3 separate regions of the Homo sapiens genome follow, and regions 1 and 2 are each linked to region 3. Evidence: promoter capture Hi-C in 16 types of primary human blood cells and fetal thymus (Javierre and others, 2016). All regions are on one chromosome and are shown on one strand. Each heading gives the region's core, a stretch centred on a gene start or on the middle of the fragment in contact. The rest is flanking DNA. Distances are from core to core; before and after follow the strand shown.

Region 1 (3,273 bases), core at 774-3,273, 140 kb after region 3:
ATAATAAAAAAAAAACAACCATGCATGTCCTTCTGACCCACAGTAAGCCAAGAGAGAGCATGAATAGAAGGGTGGAAGAGATTGGGCCAAGGCTCCAGAGAAGGTCCTTGGCACCTGACCTTTGTTATATTAGTCCTTCCTTTTCCTGTGATATCTCTCTTTCACTCAGGTCATCTGCTCCTATCTCCTAAGGCCCATGGTTTTCATGATGGGTGTAGAGTGGACAGACTGTCCAATGGTGGCTGAGATGGTGGGAATCAAGTTCTTCATAAATGAGTTTGTGGCTTATCAGCAACTGTCTCAATACAAGAACAAACGTCTCTCTGGAATGGAGGAGTGGATTGAGGGAGAGAAACAGTGGATTTCTGTAAGTGACAATCCAAAAAGCATAAACACCGTGAGGTCTCAGCCATGGTTATCTGAGGGTAGACAGAAAGTGCCAAACAGGTTTGTTGCAGACCTGCAGATGCCTTTCTGGGGTCGCAGGCCTAACTACAAAGCCAGCAGAACAGCCTACCTAGCAGCCTCATCTGCAGCGCCTGAGCTATTATGGGTCTGCATGCTATTTTCCCCCTGCCACCCCCACCACTGCCCCAACTGTGACCCAACTTCTCTCTATAATGTAATTGCTGGGTCTTTACAGCTGGGGCAGTCCAGGGCAGACACTATCTTTTGATGGTCTAAGGTCCCCTTCTTCACTTATAAGTTTAAATTGCTCCAAATTAATATTCTTTTTCTTTCCCTTTGCCTCTCTCCTCCTCCTTCGCAATCCTTCTCATTCCCAGGCCTTCTCGTTATTCATAGCCTTCAACAGGAACAGCGTTGGGCAATGAGGCCCATGGTGGTTTCCATGTCATTATCCCTATAGTAACTCAGGGAACAGTTGTTTTCTGAGCATCCTTTCATGTTCCTTGGGAAACCATGGAAAAGACTGGGGGCTGTCAGTACTCTGGAACTTCTATTGTGATTATAAGACCGCACGCATGGGACTGAATTTATTTGCTTATTTATTTTTGTTTTCCCTAGGTGAGAGCTGAAATCATTACAACATTTTCACTCTGTGGATTTGCCAATCTTAGTTCCATAGGAATCACACTTGGAGGCTTGAGTGAGTTCATCCATTTTCCCAGCTCCCCAGTAAGACAGCCAGATCCCAGCTTCTGTAGTGGGCAGTCCTGGTGCTTCAGTACAAGCTGGGATCAGATAGAGAAGCCATTGTGAAATGGGCCCATTTCTTAGGCTGCAGTTAACTTGGACCTAAGGCAGTCATGCCCACCTGGCTAATGCATACAGCCCTTTATAATCTCAACTTCAGTTACTTCTTTTTCCTTTGGATTGGAGGCCCCAAAAACTAATTTTATTTTAATTTTCTCTATGAGGAAGAAAATATAATGATATTATTTCAATTTTGCCATTAAATTGGAATAGTGCATATATAAATAAAGATATTTATTTATTTATTTATTTAATTTTTTTTGAAACAGAGTCTCACTCTGTTGCGCAGGCTGGAGTGCAGTGGTGTGATCTCAGCTCACTTAAACCTCCACCTCCTGGGTTTAAGTGATTCTCATGCCTCAGCCTCCCGAGCTGGGATTACAAGTGTGTGCCACTATGCCCATTATTATTATTATTATTTTTTTTGTATTTTTAGAAGAGACGGGGTTTCACCATGTTGGCCAAGCTGGTCTTGAATTCCTGGCCTCAAGTGATCTGCTGCCTTGGCCTCCCAAAATGTTGGGATAACAGGCGTGAGCCACCACACCTGGTCTTGTATTTTATTCAGTAGTGAAGACACTTTTTGAAATTAGGCTGCTCACTAGTCATCCTCATGGAAACACAAAGAATTAAAACAAATAAAAGCAGCAGGCACATAAGGCAGATAGACAGTAAGAGAGAGTGGTGTAAAGTGTTGGATTTAAATATGCAAGTACCAAATGTTAAAGGAGTGGGTCTTTGAAGCAGACACAGATATATTTAGACTGTTGGAGATACTGCTGCATGGGGGTGATTGTTGGAGGAATAATATGAGGAAAGTGGAATTGTCCTTGAGTGCAGGGGCACAGGGGTGACTAGCAGATCCCAAGTTTGGAAGATCCAAGTTAGAAATGGATCTTAGGCTGGATGTGGTGGCTCATGCCTGTAATCCCAACACTTTGGGCCAAGGCAGGAAGATTGCTTGCTATAGGAGTTTGAGAGCAGCCTGGGGCAACATGGTGAGATTCTGTCTCTACGAAGAATTTGAAAGTTAGCTGGGCATATTTGCACATATGCCTGTAGTCCTATCTACTCGGGAGGCTGAGGTGGGAGGATTGCTTGAACTCAGATCGAGCCTCCAGTAAGCTGTGATTGCACCACTGCACTCCGGCATGGGTGACATGGGGAGGTCCTGTAGAAAGAAAAAAAGAAGAAAAGGAAGGAAGGAAGGAAGGAAGGAAGGAAGGAAGGAAGGAATCTTAGAAGGAGTAGATTATAATAAGAAATATAGCTCAGTGTGTCCCTTTTTAAAGGCAATTATATTCTGGGGTAGAGTCATTTAATTCATGTACTTGGTAGCCAATTTAATTGAAAGGTGAAATAATTCCCTTTCAGTTTACCTTTTCCCCTTCTGTCAAACACCTGACTGTATTGTTCTAGTCTTGATGCCTGATTACTGTCCGATTATGAGACTGCCATCTAGTAGTGGGATATGCATTGTGTGGCTAAGTCTTAGGCCACACAATGAGTGTTGCTTTCCTTAGCCCTCTGTCTCAAAATAGTCCATCTAATTCTGGTCCAGGCTTAAGAGTGCGTATCTCAAGCAGTGAACGCCAGGCATTTGTACCTGTCTGGAGAAACCCAGAGCCTTGCTTTATCCAGATACATCTTGGGTATGTTCACAGAACCATTAAAGTGAGGGTCAGACACTCAATACTTGATCTGAGGAAAGTCTAAGTTAGTGATCCCTCAGGACTAATGTATACACACACTTCTTAGGGCAACACTGGCCAGTCTCAGGTGGATGGTAATAAGGATGCTCTTCATCGGCTGTGTTTTGTTTCTCTGCGTTCTTCTAAGTGGGGGCCCATGGGATATACCTGATTGCCTTGGTGGGGAAAAGCTGAAGTTATTTTATTTTATTGTCTGCAGCATCAATAGTACCTCACCGGAAGAGTGACTTGTCCAAGGTTGTGGTCAGGGCCCTCTTCACAGGGGCCTGTGTATCCCTTATCAGTGCCTGTATGGCAGGTAGGTGCCTCAGCTCTGATGGAGATACTGCTGCATGAGGGTGATGGT
Region 2 (3,485 bases), core at 750-3,249, 170 kb after region 3:
CCTCTTGCTCAAAAGTCCATTGAAATAATGAATAAAGTACACATACAGAGGAAAATAATTTATTGCTACAGAAAACCAAGGTTGAAATCATATATAAACTAGAAATCTGGGGGGATTTCTTCCAGCAGTAATGATGGGCCAGGATTGAAAAGAGCCAGTGAGGGCGCGTACCACCCTCCTTCTTGAGCAAGGACAACTTATCTAGAAAGTAAGTGGCAAAACTCCCTGGCCGACCCCACTGCCACTCTCTAACTCAGAGAGGCAAGGACAGTGTTACTCTGGCAGAGAGGAGGGTGAGGTGTGTTGAGGGGCCTGCTGAGAGGCCCACCACAAGAAGTACCTTCTGAGTAGCTAACTCAATTTTTAAGATGAAAGCCCATGAAATAAATAAAACTGCAAAGCATAAACTTGATTTTGACAAAGCCTGGGGAGTGATTCCCTGACAGGGGTAGAATTGAAGGAAGTGGTTTTTACTGCACACTTTACAGAACTTCTTATTGGTGTAATGTGGGGTATGAAAGGGAAAATAAATTTTTGTTCATGAAGTCATTGCTGAAGGCTTTCCCTAGCTGCTTAGCTTACTAATACGGTCTCATTGCTTTGTATCATTCTGAACCACCATGCATTCCATTCCCTTTTCATTGTAGCACTTCTCTAGAGGGCACCATCTTTTGCCAGTCCCTAGGTGGAAAAGACTTTGGAGTTTAAGCATACCACCATGCGTAAGACTGGTCCATTTCCTCAGCATTCCTCATTCAGGCTACCTTTTTGTTGGCAAAGCTAGTGACTTCCCATTCTACAATCAATTCACCAATATCTCTAATAGAAAATGTTAATGTTTGGTTTTGGTTCGCTGTATCCTAACAATGAAAACTTCCTCAACAATATTTAAAATTGTCTGTGGATCCTACCTGAATTAGGTTTGAAATAATAAACATTACCATGTCAAATAAAATCTTAACATTTTAATTCCTCATAGTCATTCTATAAATTGTATGACGTAATGTGGTATAGCAAAGAATAGCACTTGTGGAGAAAAACTCTATTTCTAGACATTTTGAGGGTGAGCTGAAATTCTTGCAACTACAGAATCATTTGAAAGGAGTGTATAAACTTAATGGACAGTCCCCCCACTCCCACATTTACACAGCTGTTACATATCTCTTTAACTATTAATATTGAAACAAAAATACTTTCTATTTACAAACTTCTGGGGTATCCTGCTCTTTAAAATTCTTCACTATGGTTTAGTATTAAATAGTCATGTCTTTTTCCTTATTTATTTTTTATTTTTTTGAGATGGAGTTTTGCTCTTGTTACCCAAGCTGGAGTGCAATGGCACGATCTTGGCTCACCACAACCTCTGCCTCCCAGGTTCAAGCGATTCTCCTGCTTCAGCCTCCTGAGTAGCTGGGATTACAGGTATGTGCCACCATGCCTGGCTAATTTTGTATTTTTAGTAGAGATGGTGTTTCTCCTTGTTAGTCAGGCTGGTCTTGAACTCCCGACCACAGGTGATCCACCTGCCTTGGCCTCCCAAAGTGCTGGGATTACAGGTGTGAGCCACTGCACCAAGCCATCTTTTTCCATTTTAATAAGAGATCATTTAATAATTTTTCTATTAATAATTTTTCTATTAATATTTTAGCAAATAAATTTTAAAAATGATTTCAAAAGAATACTCACATCCTCTATGTTTACTCAGTCTGTTTTGCATTATTGTAAAGGAATACCTGAGGTAATTTATAAGGAGAAGAGGTTTATTTGGCCCACTGTTCTGCAGGCTGTACAAGAAGCATGGTACCAGCATCTACTTCCGGCCAGGACCTCAGGAGGCTTCCAACCATGCTGGAGGTGAAAGGGGAGCAGGCGTGTCACATGGTGAGGGAGGGAACAAGAGAGGGGACAGGAGTGCCATGCTCTTTTAAACAATCAGCTCTCCTGTGAGCTAATAGAGAACTCACTCATTACAGTGAGGATGACGCCAATTTGGTCATGAGGAATCCACCTTCCTGACTCAAACGTCTCCCACCAGGCCCCAACTCTAACACTGGAGATCAATTTCAATATGAGATTTGGAGAGAACAAATATCCAAACTATATCACCACTTCATCATTCAACCCACCAAGCTCAGAGAACACAGCACCAAAACAAAAAAAAACCCTTTGATCCTCTTCCTCATCCTTCTCCCCCATCTCCCATGTCTTTGAAACCTGACTCAAAGAAAGAGGGAAGCCTCAGTAATTTGCTTCTTGAATTATAGCCATGTTCATCCTAGGCTTCCGGAGACAGTGGTTATAGTGGGTTTGCAGCACACTCACTGGAGCCAGACTGATATGGTTTGGATCTGTTCCCCACCCAGATCTCATCTTGAATTGTATTCCCATAATTCCCACATGTTGTGGGAGGGACCCAGTGGGAGATAAGTGGAATCATGGGAGCAGTTTCTCCCATAATGTTCTCATGGTAGTGAATAAGTCTCATGAGATCTGATGGTTTTATCAGGGGTTTCCGCTTTTGCATCTTCCTCATTTTCTCTTGCCACCACCATGTAAGAAGTGCCTTTTGCCTCCCACCATGATTCTGAGGCCTTGCCAGCCTTGTGGAAATGTAAGTCCAATTAAACCTCTTTTTCTTCCCAGTCTTGGGTATGTCTTTATCAGCAGCGTGAAAATGGACTAATACAGTAAATTGGTACCAGTTGAGTGGGGTGTTGTTGAAAAGATACCCAAAAATGTGGAAGCGACTTTGGAACTGGGTAATAGCCAGAGGTTGGAACAGTTTGGAGGGCTCAAAGAAGACAGGAAAAATGTGAGAAAGTTTGGAACGTCCTAGAGATGTGTTGAATGACTTTGACAAAAATGCTGATAGTGATATGAACAATAAGGTCCAGGCTAAGGTGGTCTCAGATAGAGATGAGGAACTCGTTGGGAACTGGAGCAAATGTGACTCTTGTTATGTTTTAGCAAAGGGACTGGTGGCATTTTGCCTCTGCCCTAGGGATATGTGGAACTTTGAACTTGAGAGAGATGATTTAGGGCATCTAGTGGAAGAAATTTCTAAGCAGCAAAGCATTCAAGATGTGACTTGGGTGCTGTTAAAGGCATTCAGTTTTAAAAGGGAAGCAGAGCATAAAAGTTCAGGAAATTTGCAGCCTGACAGTGCGATAGAAAAGAATCCTAGCTGGGCGCGGCAACTCACACCTGTAATCCCAGCACTTTGGGAGGCTGAGGTGGGCAGATCCCTTGAGGTCAGGAATTCTAGACTACCCTGGCCAACATGGTGAAACCCCGTCTCTACTAAAAATACAAAAATTAGCCAGGCATGGTGGCTCACACCTGTAATCCCAGCTACTCAGGAGGCTGAGGCAAGAGAATCACTTGAACCCAGGAGATGGAGGTGGCAGTAAGCCAAGATTGCACCATTGCACTCCAGGCTGGGCAACAGAGTGAGACTCCATCAAAAAAAAAAAAAAAAAGAAAGA
Region 3 (3,327 bases), core at 371-2,870:
CAAAGTTATGTGCTAACGTCTTGTGGCCTCTCTTGTAGCCTGACAGGACTTTTTTCCTGAAGTCTTCCCCCTTGCCCACCTCCCCCATCTGCTGGAAACTATAGAGTAAGGGCCACTAATTCTCCACAAGTGGGGAGTGGGTGACATGGCTGGAGTTGCCAAGACCTCTGATTGGTAATGCACAGCTACTGCAATGTGATGCTTTTTTCTCTGATTGGGGTAGACCCCATTAAACGTTTACAGCTGTGGCTAGCTAAGGGGACCCTGTCAGGAACTCCTGTGCTAGACTTTCCTCTTCAAGGAAGGGGTCTGTGTGTACGTGTGTATCTGTGTATGAATGTATATGTGTGTTGTTGCACAAAAATAGGAGTTAAGTGGAGAAATTGAACAAGATCTGAAAAGTGGATTGGAGGCAGGATTCCCCAGTAAGGGCTGATGTGGATAAGGAATTCAAGGGTGCAGAATCATGCAAGCCAAAGTATCCAGACTCGAGTTAAACTGGGATGGCGATTCGATGTCTATAAACCTTGTGGCATTTATGGCCTTAAGAGGTTTTCCTTGCCTCCCCAGTTTCTTACCAAACTCTCTCTTTGAAGAACTCCCACTTGATCCGAACTTGGTCTGGATGAAAGCAGGAAGTGCAGCCCTAGGTGCCAGGGCGGGAGCAAGCACTTCAAGACCCCCTCCAAAATCACCTGGACCGCACAGATCTAAGCAGCCGCATCCCCCACCACCCACACCCGGACCACTATTCCCTACCTTCCCCTCTTCCAAACAGTGCGTGTGTGGCAGCCTGCGCCTCTCGCCTTCCCCCGTGGAACCTCACACGAAGCGCCCCCGGGGGTGTGATTAAAGAGGGAACCAGGTCCCGACGTTCTGTGAACAAACGCGCGCCCTTACTCTCAGTGGGGCTCCCGTCCGACCCCCACTCCTCTCCTAACTCACGTAAGGACCCGGCTGTGACCGGACAAACCGGGTCTGGGGTGCTTCCAGTCACTCTTCAAGTCACTCCCAAACTTCTCAGACTGCACCCGAGGCTCTGCGGCGCCGCCTCCCTCTCCCGGCCTGGTACAGAGAAGGGCTGGGTGCGCCAGGACAGTAGTACCGGGGTCTGCCAGCTCCGCAGAGGTCCCTCCAATCCCCCCTCCTCCTCTGCGCCCCCCCACCCATGCCCAGCAATCCCAGCAGCTCCAGCGCAAACCTAGCGACGCAGTTCCGGGTCTGGCGGGGCGCGGGCGCGGCTCGCAGGGCGGTGGGACCCCCAAGACCTCACGAGGATCCCCGGAGGGAGACGTGACTCCGGGGTCTTAGAGGGGTTTAGGTCGGATGGGTGACTTGCTTTGACGCCTGGCCTGGTCTGTGGGTGGCAGGTGATCGATGGCCTTGGACTTGGAGCCCAGACCCGACGGTGTCGAGAGGATCTGAGGAGAGTCTCCCCTCCCCATACCCTCTCCGCCTCCCACCCTCTCCCCAGCCCCATGGGACTTGTGAAGGCGGACTTGCTTTTTTCGCCGTCCACACAACCGCACTAGCCGGGCCTTCGGCACCGACGGAACATCTCTACCTGCGCCCCGGGAGCCCTCGCCGTCTCACCTCGCGCGCTGCCGTCCGCTGGAAGCACCTCCGCGCCTCCCCAGGCGCCAGACTCCATCCCGCCCCACTGCGCCCCGCCCCGTGGCTGAGCCGAGCCGGGCCGTGCCTTCCCCTCCTCACCCCCAGCCCCGCCCGTCCCGGCGCAGAGCTGCAGAGGCACCGGACGAGAGAGGGCTCCGCGGGCCCAGCTGGCAGCCAGGCCGGAGACAAGTTGCAGTCCCGGGCTCTGGTGACGCCGTGGCCGCAGGTCAGATTTGGGAGGGCTTTTCCCGGCCCGCGGGCCTGGGCGCTCCGGGGGAGGGAGCTCCAAGGGCAGGGTGGCGGGGGAGCCGCAGCTCCTCCACGTTATGGAAGAAAGGGGAATGCTAGCCCCCTGCGCCTCCGATCTTATCCTAAGGCTAAAACCGGTCCTGTTAGGGCCTGTCCTCTGCCCAATCAAGGTTTTGAGAGACTGGGTTCTTTGGGACCTGGGAATGTTGGGTGGCCTAGTTTGCCTGGGCCTGCGGGTTCTTCTCCTGGCACCAGCACAACATACCAGGGAGGGAGCTTTGGGCTTTAGGATCCAAGCTTTCCCCCTCAGCCCTCCCTTAGGACCAAGATGGCCTTGACCCATCTTCCTCCCACCTCAGGGCCACCAGGGTCACCACTCTAGGGCTTCAGGCTGGAAAAGCAGCCATGTGGGGCAAGAACAGGCAGGCCTGTGTTCTCTCTCTGGTTCTGCCGCTGGCTCTGCCTGGGGCTTCACTGCCCTGTCCTGGGCAACCTTCCTGTCAAGGTTGTTGAGAAGTTACTGCCCCATCGTTGTGTAAATCATTAAGGGCAACCCACCCACAAGGAGTGGTTATTAAGCATGTCCACCTTCCTCTTCAGGTCATCCCCACACAGCCTGGTCTGAAAGCCCATTTCATGCCCTTAGGGGCTGAGTGGTACATTAGCGTTGAGGCCCAGGATCCTGAAGACATGGTGGTGGCGGGGGAGGGGAATGACATCTTGGGATCAGGGAAGGACCGCTGTGGCTACTTCCGTATATCCAGCTTTACAGCTTCAACCATCCAGAGCCCAGCTCTTCATGCACTATTAAAGGCCAGCACCTGGACAGACTCTGTGAAATGCAGCAGGTGATACTGAGCTTTCCAGTTATGGCAGGGCCTAGGTTTTTTCATTTAATAGGAGATGGAGTAGGGATGAGGTCACTCCCTGGGTTCTCTCCTCTAGACAACCCATCCAGGAACCCTGATGTTTGGCTGGGGATGAGGCTTTCCCTGAGCTCCTTTCTTCCTCTATCCTAACCCCAATCTCCAGGTTGCCTTCAGGAGGTCTTCGCCGGCTTTAGGTACTCCTTACTCGCACTCAGGAGTCCCAGCCTGAGTCCTCTGCTGCCTCTGTTTCCCTGTTGACTCTGGGTGGAGAGAGAGAGAGCAGGAAGCTTGCACTAAATACATGAGCACCTGGTAGTGCATCCCTTCTGGATCCAACCAGAGGAGACAAGCTCCCGCCTACCCTCTCTATATCACATTTGCCCAACACCTGTCACTTGCTTTGAATTAAACCTCCTTCTCACATTTGATTCTGGCAACCATGCTTAGAAGTAAACAGTTCAGGCATATTTGCTCCCATAGCTGGAAGAGGAAAACAAGGATCAGATTGGAGAAGTGATTTATCTAAGATCCCACAGTGGACTGGGAGCAGCACTGAGACCTCAGCCTAGTCTCCTGATCCCCAAGCAGGGCCCTG

The links. Contacts are between HindIII fragments. The CHiCAGO score rates a contact against its expected background, and 5 or more counts as called.
Region 1: a fragment that was not itself captured here is called in contact with the fragment with the promoter of DUOXA1 in region 3 in 9 of 17 cell types (naive B cells, naive CD4 T cells, M2 macrophages and 6 more); the score reaches 9.2 in naive B cells.
Region 2: a contact is called between a fragment that was not itself captured here and the fragment with the promoter of DUOXA1 in region 3, in 1 of 17 cell types (naive B cells). The highest score is 6.1, in naive B cells.

The regions. Positions count from the first base shown.
Region 1 is chr15:45,269,169-45,272,441 of GRCh38, forward strand. SLC28A2 (solute carrier family 28 member 2) reads left to right here. Exons shown (of 18, transcript NM_004212.4): 14 at 170-367; 15 at 1,027-1,108; 16 at 3,127-3,225. The region is part of intron 1 of SLC28A2-AS1 (SLC28A2 antisense RNA 1); the gene reads right to left. Among named protein-coding and RNA genes, the nearest start is that of SLC28A2-AS1, 8.4 kb to the right of the region's middle. The HindIII fragment of the contact is 8,722 bases long and covers 1-3,273 here.
Region 2 is chr15:45,294,296-45,297,780 of GRCh38, forward strand. No RefSeq gene overlaps it. Among named protein-coding and RNA genes, the nearest start is that of SLC28A2-AS1, 17 kb to the left of the region's middle. The HindIII fragment of the contact is 8,488 bases long and covers 1-3,485 here.
Region 3 is chr15:45,128,259-45,131,585 of GRCh38, forward strand. DUOXA1 (dual oxidase maturation factor 1) reads right to left here and starts at 1,621. Exons shown (of 9, transcript NM_001276266.2): 1 at 1,594-1,621; 2 at 1,202-1,357; 3 at 760-876. It overlaps DUOX1 (dual oxidase 1), which reads left to right and starts at 1,736. Exons shown (of 34, transcript NM_175940.3): 1 at 1,736-1,840. The HindIII fragment of the contact is 6,225 bases long and covers 1-2,158 here.